2 separate regions of the Homo sapiens genome follow, and region 1 is linked to region 2. The links are contacts of gene promoters, found by promoter capture Hi-C in blood cells and fetal thymus (Javierre and others, 2016). All regions are on one chromosome and are shown on one strand. Each heading gives the region's core, a stretch centred on a gene start or on the middle of the fragment in contact. The rest is flanking DNA. Distances are from core to core; before and after follow the strand shown.

Region 1 (4,134 bases), core at 3-2,502, 1.3 Mb after region 2:
ATATCACATTGCTGATAGTGGTTGACATTGAAAAAGGAGTTGGAGTTGACAAAGAAATAGGAAGAGAGGTCCTCAAGGCTTTAATTCTTCTGTGAAACTTTTACAAACAATAAAATTGAATACATAAATAATTAAAGATGATAAGGTATTACCTTTAAGAATGATTTACAAATACCAAAAATGACTAAATTAGGGTATTGGGATTATGTGTCATTTTTCCACTTTTTTTTTTTTCAAAATTGCCTTTAAGTTTATGTGTTTCAATGGGAAGAAAATGCAATTCGAAAAGAGACTTGAGGAGAAAGATGGGAAGATGAAAATGCCGAACTTATAAGATTTCTTTTGGGGGGTAGGGGAGAGGGACTATGACGTCTTTTCTCTACCCTTTCATATCCTCACAGCATTCTCAACAAGGCTGGCCACATGCCATTGCCAGGGATATTGGAGCAAGGAGCGGGTGAGGGGAGGGCAAGAGATTGTACCATTTGTGATCACAAAAGACAGGGCAAGACCTATGAGCCAGTGCTAATATCTTAAAGCCCCAACAGAAACAATATATTTATCTAAGATGAGGTTACCCAGGTGAATGAAAGTACCAAGGTTCTTTGTTCTTGGTGGAGATAACATAATTCAATATGGTAACAATGTAACTAGTATTGACAGAAGCTCAGATTTTAAAAATGGGCAAACAAATGCAGTTTGTTGATAGATAAAAATCTTAGAAAACATGTTGGAAATCAACTTGGTTACTCCCATAACCAAGGCTGGTAACTTTTTTTTTTTTTTTTTTTTTTGAGACGGAGGCTCGCTCTGTCACCCAGCCCGGACTGCGGACTGCAGTGGCGCAATCTCGGCTCACTGCAAGCTCCGCTTCCCGGGTTCACACCATTCTCCTGCCTCAGCCTCCTGAGTAGCTGGGACTACAGGCGCCTGCCACCGCACCCGGCTAATTTTTTGTATTTTTAGTAGAGACGGGGTTTCACCTTGTTAGCCAGGATGGTCTCGATCTCCTGACCTCATGATCCACCCGCCTCGGCCTCCCAAAGTGCTGGGATTACAGGCGTGAGCCACCGCGCCCGGCCGGCTGGTAACTTTAATGTGGCCTTTGAGAACCTGTCTGATCCGCTTGCCTCTGCAGCCTCACCTCATGCCACACCCACATCACACAAGACTCTCCAGTGACACTGGCCTCCTTCTTTCTCAGTTCCTGGACACATCATGCTGTGTTCCTTGCCCCTCCAGGCAAGGCTGTCCCACAGGCTGTTCCTTGATCATTCTTCTCCTACTCTTGCTTAGGAAATTCTTGTTCTCCCTCTAGGTGTCACTCAGCTTAAGCCACTCAGAACCTACCAAGTTGTCATGGTTCTCCGGTCCCTCAACACTCGCATACTTCTTCACAGCACCTTCCTCAAACAGCTTGTAATCATGTCATGCACAAGTTTATTTGCTTATTGTCTTTCTCTCCCATGTGAGGTCCATGATGGCAAAGATCACGTCTGTTTGCTCACTGTTCTTCCCCTGTGATGTAGCACAGTGCCTGGCACATGTAGGTGCTCAATGATCCTTTCTGTATGAATAAATAATGAATGAATGGCTATGACGATGTGCCTCCCTGGTGTGCCTCAGGCTGCTCTGAAGGGATTTGGCTGTGTAGGGATGTAGTTATGCAACCTTCGTGAGAGGTCTAGTTGGGAGGGTTGGGGATCATTGCCCTGGTGGATACAGCTCTCTCCCACCACCCCCATCAGGACTCACCTCGGCTTGGGACGGAAGGGAATCATGGTTCTCAAGGCAGCATCATACTTCCCCCACGGTGGGACAGCTGCCCTCCCTGGAGCCTCAGGATTTCTCTCTTGCTGACTCCAGGGGCCATCTTGGAGAGTATAGGTTTTCTTGGAAAAGAAAAACAAAAGAGCATCAGTTTCAAATCTCGTAAATTCTGTCCTGAGGGAATGTTGGACCAGCTGCCCATGGAGAAATGGATTTTTCCATATCCTGCTTCCTAAAGAAAGGCTTCCATACCGAGAATAAGCAGGGGACCGAGAGTCAGGGCAACTGGATCCCAGCACTCGCTCTGACCCACATTTGCTGAGTGAGTCTGGCCCAGTCACTCTACCTCTTTGGATTTTTATCTGACAGTAAACAATTTAGACAGGAATAAAGGGTGCCATAGTTAGTTACCTGCAGAATGAGGGACCAAGTCACTCTTTGAGGGTAAATCTACTAAAAAGAAACCAACAAGTAAAAAAGCAAATCCTAAAATATTATATGTTTCCCTTTTGACAACTAAAATAAAAGGACAGGTAATTTTTAGGACTTCATATAGAATAAATAATATATTCTATATAAAATAATACTTTTTAAAAGCACAGCAAGGATTGACAGAAAGAGATTCAGAATAGTGGTTACATCAGGTAGGAAGGGTTGGGGAATGACATGGGGGAAGACCAATTGCTGCGTGTGATTGCCAAGGTCCAAGCTGATGTATTGGTGATGGGTTTGCAGATGCTTATTATTATTATTATTAATATGAGTAAATGCATAGATAAATAGGTAATAGGTGATAGAGAGATAGATACAATCTAATCTCTATATAATATTATGCATAGAGATATGCATAAACCATGAAGGTATGCCATGATGATGGATTATAATTGATCTCATTGTGGAAGCCTGAGGTCTATTTGAAAAAAATCAAGAGTAGCTGGGTGGGGTGGCTCATGCTTGTAATCCCAGTGCTTTGGGAGGCCAAGACAGGAGGATGGAGGCCAGGAGTTCATGACAAGCCTGGGCAACATAGGGAGACCCCCATTTCTGTGAAAAATTTAAAAATTAGCTGGGCGTAGTGGTATGTGCCTATAGTCCCAGCTAGCTACTCAGGAGGCTGAGGTGGGAGGATCATTTGAACCCAGGAGGTGTCAGTGAGCTATGATTGTGCCACTGTACTCTAGCCTGGGTGACAAAGCAAGACCCTGAGTCAAAAAAAAAAAAAAAAGAGAGAGAGAGAGAGCAAAAAGAGAAAAGAAAAAAAATTCAAGGGTAAATAAGTATGGGAAGAAATTGTTTGACGTAATTTATGACCGTGGAGAATATTCTGCCAACTCAGTTTCCTGGTGTGCTGATGCTAAGAGATCTACTTACATAAATAAGTCCTGAAACCATGTCATCGCCTATGTCGATGCCACGATTCACGAGGCCACCAGAAGAGTTGGGCACCCAGTATGTCCTCTTCCTAGTCATTTTCAGTTCCTGCCAATTCTTCGTTTCCCAGAATCAGAGAATATGAAAAGACAGCAGGAGTTAGAAGAAGCTTAGATCTCGCCTTGAGCAGCCAGAAGAGGGGGCACTACCCTGCAGGGAGCATATTGGGGCCATGCAGAGGTTTGGGTGCCTGCTCTTTCCTCTCCTTAGCCTGTGCTTGATCCCTCTTTTTAAACATCTTCTCAGGCCTCAGGCCCAAATCACTTAGTGAAACCTTCTCTAACCACCCTCCCCAACCCACCCCCAACACCGCACCCTTGATCCTGGGCAATCTCCTTTGATGTATCAAACCCCTGCTCATAAAATCAGTCTTCTTGCTTTATCCCAGTCTTTAACTGTGTATTTGTTTGAATCATTATTTGTTCAGACTTCATTTATGCACTACACAGAGAGCCTCATGAGCACAGGGACATGTCTGCTTTCCTCGCTGTTGAATTTCCTGGGCCTGGAACGTGCTGGGAGGAGAGCAGGTGCTCAATAAATGAAGAATGAATGGACACATATGTGAATGAAAGAAACATCATTTTCCCTGCTTTCACTCTTGGTTTTCACAGACCCCAGAAGGAATCTGGGGACAAGTTAGGAGACTTAAATAATCAGGGTTCTTTTTTTAAAAAAAAAATATGACTTTCATATTTGTTTTTCTGAGTATGTGACTCACTCCCTGCTTGACTCAGAATATTCATGTGCCTGGGACAGGAGAGAAGGTAGTAATTAGGAATATTCTGAAGAGATGGAAAGAGAAAGTGTGCAGCAGAGCCAGGGCCATGAGGGTGCAGCCTGTGCCCCCCAGGGCCCCACACTCAGAAGGGCCCCAGGCTCAGTTGAATGCTTTTCTGTTGCCATCCTGAAATTCTTAATAAATTTGAACAA
Region 2 (4,368 bases), core at 337-2,836:
GGGATTCTTCGGCACTTTCTCGCGATACTGTTTACTAATGTAATATAACCAAGTAGACAGCAGCTATACTTGAAAACAGGTTACAGTGACGTGAAAACCAGATAAAACAATGAAGCAATGCCACAGGGAAAAACAAAACGTTCAAACATTATCCATATTTTCCCTATTGTCAAGTGTCTTTGATGGCCAAGTAACCAGACCAAGACGACCCTAATAAATTCGAGATAAATGACTGTTAAGCTTTGCGGACTGCAAAACATTACTATAAATCAAGCTAAAGTCACAATTCCTGCTCCCGATGGCTCACGCCTTCCTTCTAACTGTAACATCATGAAAAAGTAAAGGTGGTCCTAGTTAGCGTCTTTTGGTGTTTTATTTGCACGTGGTGGTTAACTGGGGTCGTGGTGGCAACTTCGGTGGTAGAGAAGTTGCACACACTCTCAACGAGGTGTTTGGGTCCTAAAGCACTTAAATCTTCATTCACGGAGGCTCGTGAATTATATAATACAGACTAGCATTTCCGGTAAGGTAACAGGAAGTCCACTGTACTCTTCTCACTGCCTAAGGAGCATTCTCATTTTTCTCGGCTTACAAATCTGGATGCTCTTAGCCTGGTGAGGATGCTGTGGGGCTTAAATGCCTCGTGTGCTTTGAAATCCTGAGATGAAAGATATCGCAGCATTGCAAATAGCAATAATAAGGCCTTCTATTTATGTTTACTGTACACTCAGGCGTTTGGCTGGGACCACGGCTTATTCCTAAGCAGGTACAGGACATTAGCATTACCTGCCCAAAGAACAATGCATCCAAACACAGACCCAGCTACCTCCGGGTCAATGGGCGAGGGACGCAGAGAGGGAGGAGCTCCCGCAGCCGGCGGCCGCGGAACCCAGGAAACAACCCCATCCGCCCGAGGCGCTCTGTGGGGGCGGCCTCGACCTCCCCGCCGTTCCTCCCCGCGGAGCACCAGACCCGGGGCCGACGGCCGCGGGGCGGACAGCTTCTCTCTCGGGGCCGGGATGCGCTGAGCACCTCGGTCCAACCTGTTTTTCCGGGGTGGTGACCTCGACGCGAAGGACCGGGCGAGCTGCTGCCTCCCGGGGGATACCAGCCCCCGGCGCTCGTTCAAGGAGGGAGGAAGGAAGGGCTCCCATCGTGTTTGCGCAGGAGTGAGTTTTATTTGCTGCATCTGCGGGCGGGCGGGGCCGGCGGCCCCAAGGTCAGCCGAGGCCGGAGTGCGCGGCTCGCGGCGAGGCCGGTCCCGCCGCCGCCGCCGACTCCCAGCCCGGGCCAGTCACGGCCGGCGCCGGCTCGCGGGCAGCCCAGTAGCGCGGCCTGGCTGAAGAAGACATCCCTGGCCGCGCAGGCCCCGCGCCCCTCACACCCGCCCGGCCCGCTCCCAGATACCTTCTTCAGCTCGTTCTCGCTGGCGCCGGGCGGGACGCCCAGGATGTCGTACAGCTTCGTGTCAGCCACGTTAGCCATGGCGGCCGGCCGGGCAGTGCTCGGGGAGAAGGTGGCGAAGCAGACAGAGCGGAGTCGGGCCCACAAGCGGCGTCGGCGGCGGCACAGGCCGAGGGAGACAGCGAGGGGGAAGCGGGGGCGGGGCTGAACTTTGACCCAGCGCACGGTGCGCCGTGACGTCGCTGTGCAGAGCCCGCCCCCGAGCGCCCGAGGCGCGGCCACTGGGGTCGAAGTATTGAAGAGTGGGCCAGGTTCTCTGTTTTCCTCCAGGTCCAGGCGGCTGGGCAGGGCCAACGTAGGAAATGAAGAACTGTGCACGGCGCACCCCAGGAATTCAGCTTCCTCTCAAAAGCCATGGTTGCGAGGTCGCGTGTTTAACCTCGCACTGGCTGCTGAGGGAATTAACAGGCCTGCGCAGCAGCTTCGTTAGCTTCGAAAGAAAATGGGCCCCGGCTCCCGCAGGAGGCCCGCCTGGCGCGCAGATGTCGTTATTAGAATCCGGGACGTCGGTGGACCCTCTGGGTCTGGCTCCCTCGGGGCTTACGATGAAAAAAACTGGGGGGCGCGTGTGTGTGTATGTTGTGTTTTATATTATGAGAATTCTGAAACATTTAGCAGAAGCAGTATATTACTCCCCATAGTGCAGTTAGCTACCTTTTACCTGTTTCATTGGCTCCACCATACATTTCTAGTGTTTTAAGGGAAACCGTTTCATTCATAAATACCCTAAGTGTATATATTTAATATCTAAGAGACAACTTTTAAAGGCATAACGATGTAATCTCATCTAATGAAATTAACAATTCCTTAATCTAATTCCCAGTCCATATTTAGGTTTTTCAGATGATCTCATGTCCTTTTACAATTGGTTTGTGGCATCCGGGTCCAAACCAAGGTCCACATGTTGCATCTGGACCACGTGTTTAAGCCTCTTACTTGATAGCTTTAAAATTAGCTAACACCAGAGGTTTAGATGGTGTAAGGCAAGTCTGGCCACCAGGTGACTTGATTTACATTCGTTTTAGTTTCGCTCAGAAAGTATGCTGTGCATCTACCAAGTGCTATGATGTACAGAGGCCTGGTCCGGGGAGAGGAGTGTTACAAAAGTGCCTGCCTTCAACCCATTTACGGTTTATGGAGACAGAAAAGTAAGGTTTTCTGATCCCTTGGAACCTGAACTGATAGCAAAGACTTCAGCATAAGCATCTCACTCAGGATAATGTTTCTTCCTTGGCGTTCCCTTTGACCTAGTTGTGGAGGGCCTGAATTCCATGACAAGGACTCTGAAATTTAGCTTGAAAACCCTAAGAGTAATCAGTGATAAGTCATTAATAGTCCTTAAACCCTTTTCCTCAAATCCCATCTGAAATCCTGCTCCCTCTGTGAAGTCTTCCTTTACTGGGCACTGGTGAACACTGCTATCTCATTCGAGTTCCCACCACCCTTCGTTTGTACCTTTTGTGGTAGGATCTCGAACTCTTTTGTTTTTTTTTTTTTTTTTTTTTTTTTACTTGAAACAGCGTCTCGTTATGTCGCTCAGGCTGGAGTGCAGTGGCGCCATCTCAGCTCGCTGCAACCTCCACCTCCCGGCTTCAAGTGATTCTCCCACCTCAGCCTCTCGAGTAGCTGGGATTACAGGCGCCCACCACCATGCCCGGCTAATTTTTGTATTTTTAGTAGAGGTGGAGCTTCACCATGTTGACCAGGCTGGTCTCGAACTCCTGATCTCAAATCATCCACCCACCTTGGCCTCCCAAAGTGCTGGGATTGCAGGCCTGAGCCACTGCCTCTGCCAACCGCCATTGCCGTGTAAATGCTGACGTCATCCTCATGCACGGCTGTAAAATCCAATTCTCTACTTTTCACATTTTGAGATGTTCGTAAGAGACGGTGTAAAGTTATGGCGAGGTTAGACTGTGTAGGTTGGTAGTCTGACTCTGCCATTTAGGAACAATGTGACCTTCAGCAAGTTACTTAACTTTTCTGAGGTTTCCTCAGGTGTAAGATGGGGCTTGTTATTTTTTATATCATTGGTTTAAAAGAGTTATACATTTCTATTACTTAGGGCTGGGCGCAGTGGCCTGTAATCCCAGAACTTTGGGAGGCTGAGGCGGGATCACTCCTGCCTCAAGTCCTGATCACTTGAGGTCAGGAGTTCGAGACCAGCCTGGTCAACATGGCAAGACCCCGTCTCTATTAAAAACACAAAAATTAGCTGGGGGTGGTTGCGCACGCCTGTAGTCCCAGCTACTCGGGAGGCTGAGGTGGGAGAATCCCTTGAGCCCAGGAGGTGGGGGTTGCAGTGAGCCAAGATCACACCACTGCACTCCAGCCTGGGTGACAGAGTGAGACCCTGTCTCAAAATAATAATAAATAATTAAAATTTAAAAAATTACTAAGAAGCTAAAAGAAATTAAGTATAAACTATTGTTCTTGGCCCATATGCTTACGTTGTCTTTGCTCATTTAAATTTCTGGCTTTTCTACTGGGATTCCCTGACTTCTTCCATTACCTATGGGGAATGCCCCTCCGTCCCTTTTCATGACCTCATCTTCCCAAATCTCCTTGCTTGTCAGTTATCATTTTCTCTCGTCTCATTTCTCTGTTAGTTCCTGCTCCACGTAAGAATATGAACTGAAAATCTGTCTTTGTTGCAACCTTCATATTAATTTATCTTATTTGTTTCATATTGTTTTATCTTATTTTCCTTCTGCCCATGAACAGTTTAAAAGGGCTGGAGTTTCCTATTTGTTTCAGTTTTACTCAGTTTTTTTTTTTGCAAGAGGAAAAAATTCTCTCTTGATGCCATTTTAGCTTCTGATATTGTAATGAAGAGTAGCTGGGTAAATTCCCTCTTTTGTTCTTGTTATTTTATTTTAGTTTTTTACCTGACTAGACCAGTAA

Evidence for each region. The method cuts DNA at HindIII sites, captures the fragments that hold promoters and counts their contacts. A CHiCAGO score of 5 or more calls a contact.
Region 1: a contact is called between a fragment that was not itself captured here and the fragment with the promoter of DNAJA2 in region 2, in 1 of 17 cell types (naive CD8 T cells). The highest score is 5.2, in naive CD8 T cells.

The regions. Positions count from the first base shown.
Region 1 is chr16:48,228,682-48,232,815 of GRCh38, forward strand. ABCC11 (ATP binding cassette subfamily C member 11) reads right to left here. Exons shown (of 30, transcript NM_001370497.1): 2 at 3,142-3,258; 3 at 1,756-1,892. The coding sequence starts at 3,240. Among named protein-coding and RNA genes, the nearest start is that of LONP2, 14 kb to the right of the region's middle. The HindIII fragment of the contact is 4,111 bases long and covers 1-3,308 here.
Region 2 is chr16:46,972,088-46,976,455 of GRCh38, forward strand. DNAJA2 (DnaJ heat shock protein family (Hsp40) member A2) reads right to left here and starts at 1,587. Exons shown (of 9, transcript NM_005880.4): 1 at 1,408-1,587. The coding sequence starts at 1,485. DNAJA2-DT (DNAJA2 divergent transcript) reads left to right here and starts at 1,685. Exons shown (of 2, transcript NR_186372.1): 1 at 1,685-2,038. RefSeq lists silencers at 459-538, 889-958, 989-1,038, 1,189-1,268, 1,299-1,348 and enhancers at 1,779-1,848, 1,909-1,998. The HindIII fragment of the contact is 5,496 bases long and covers 239-4,368 here.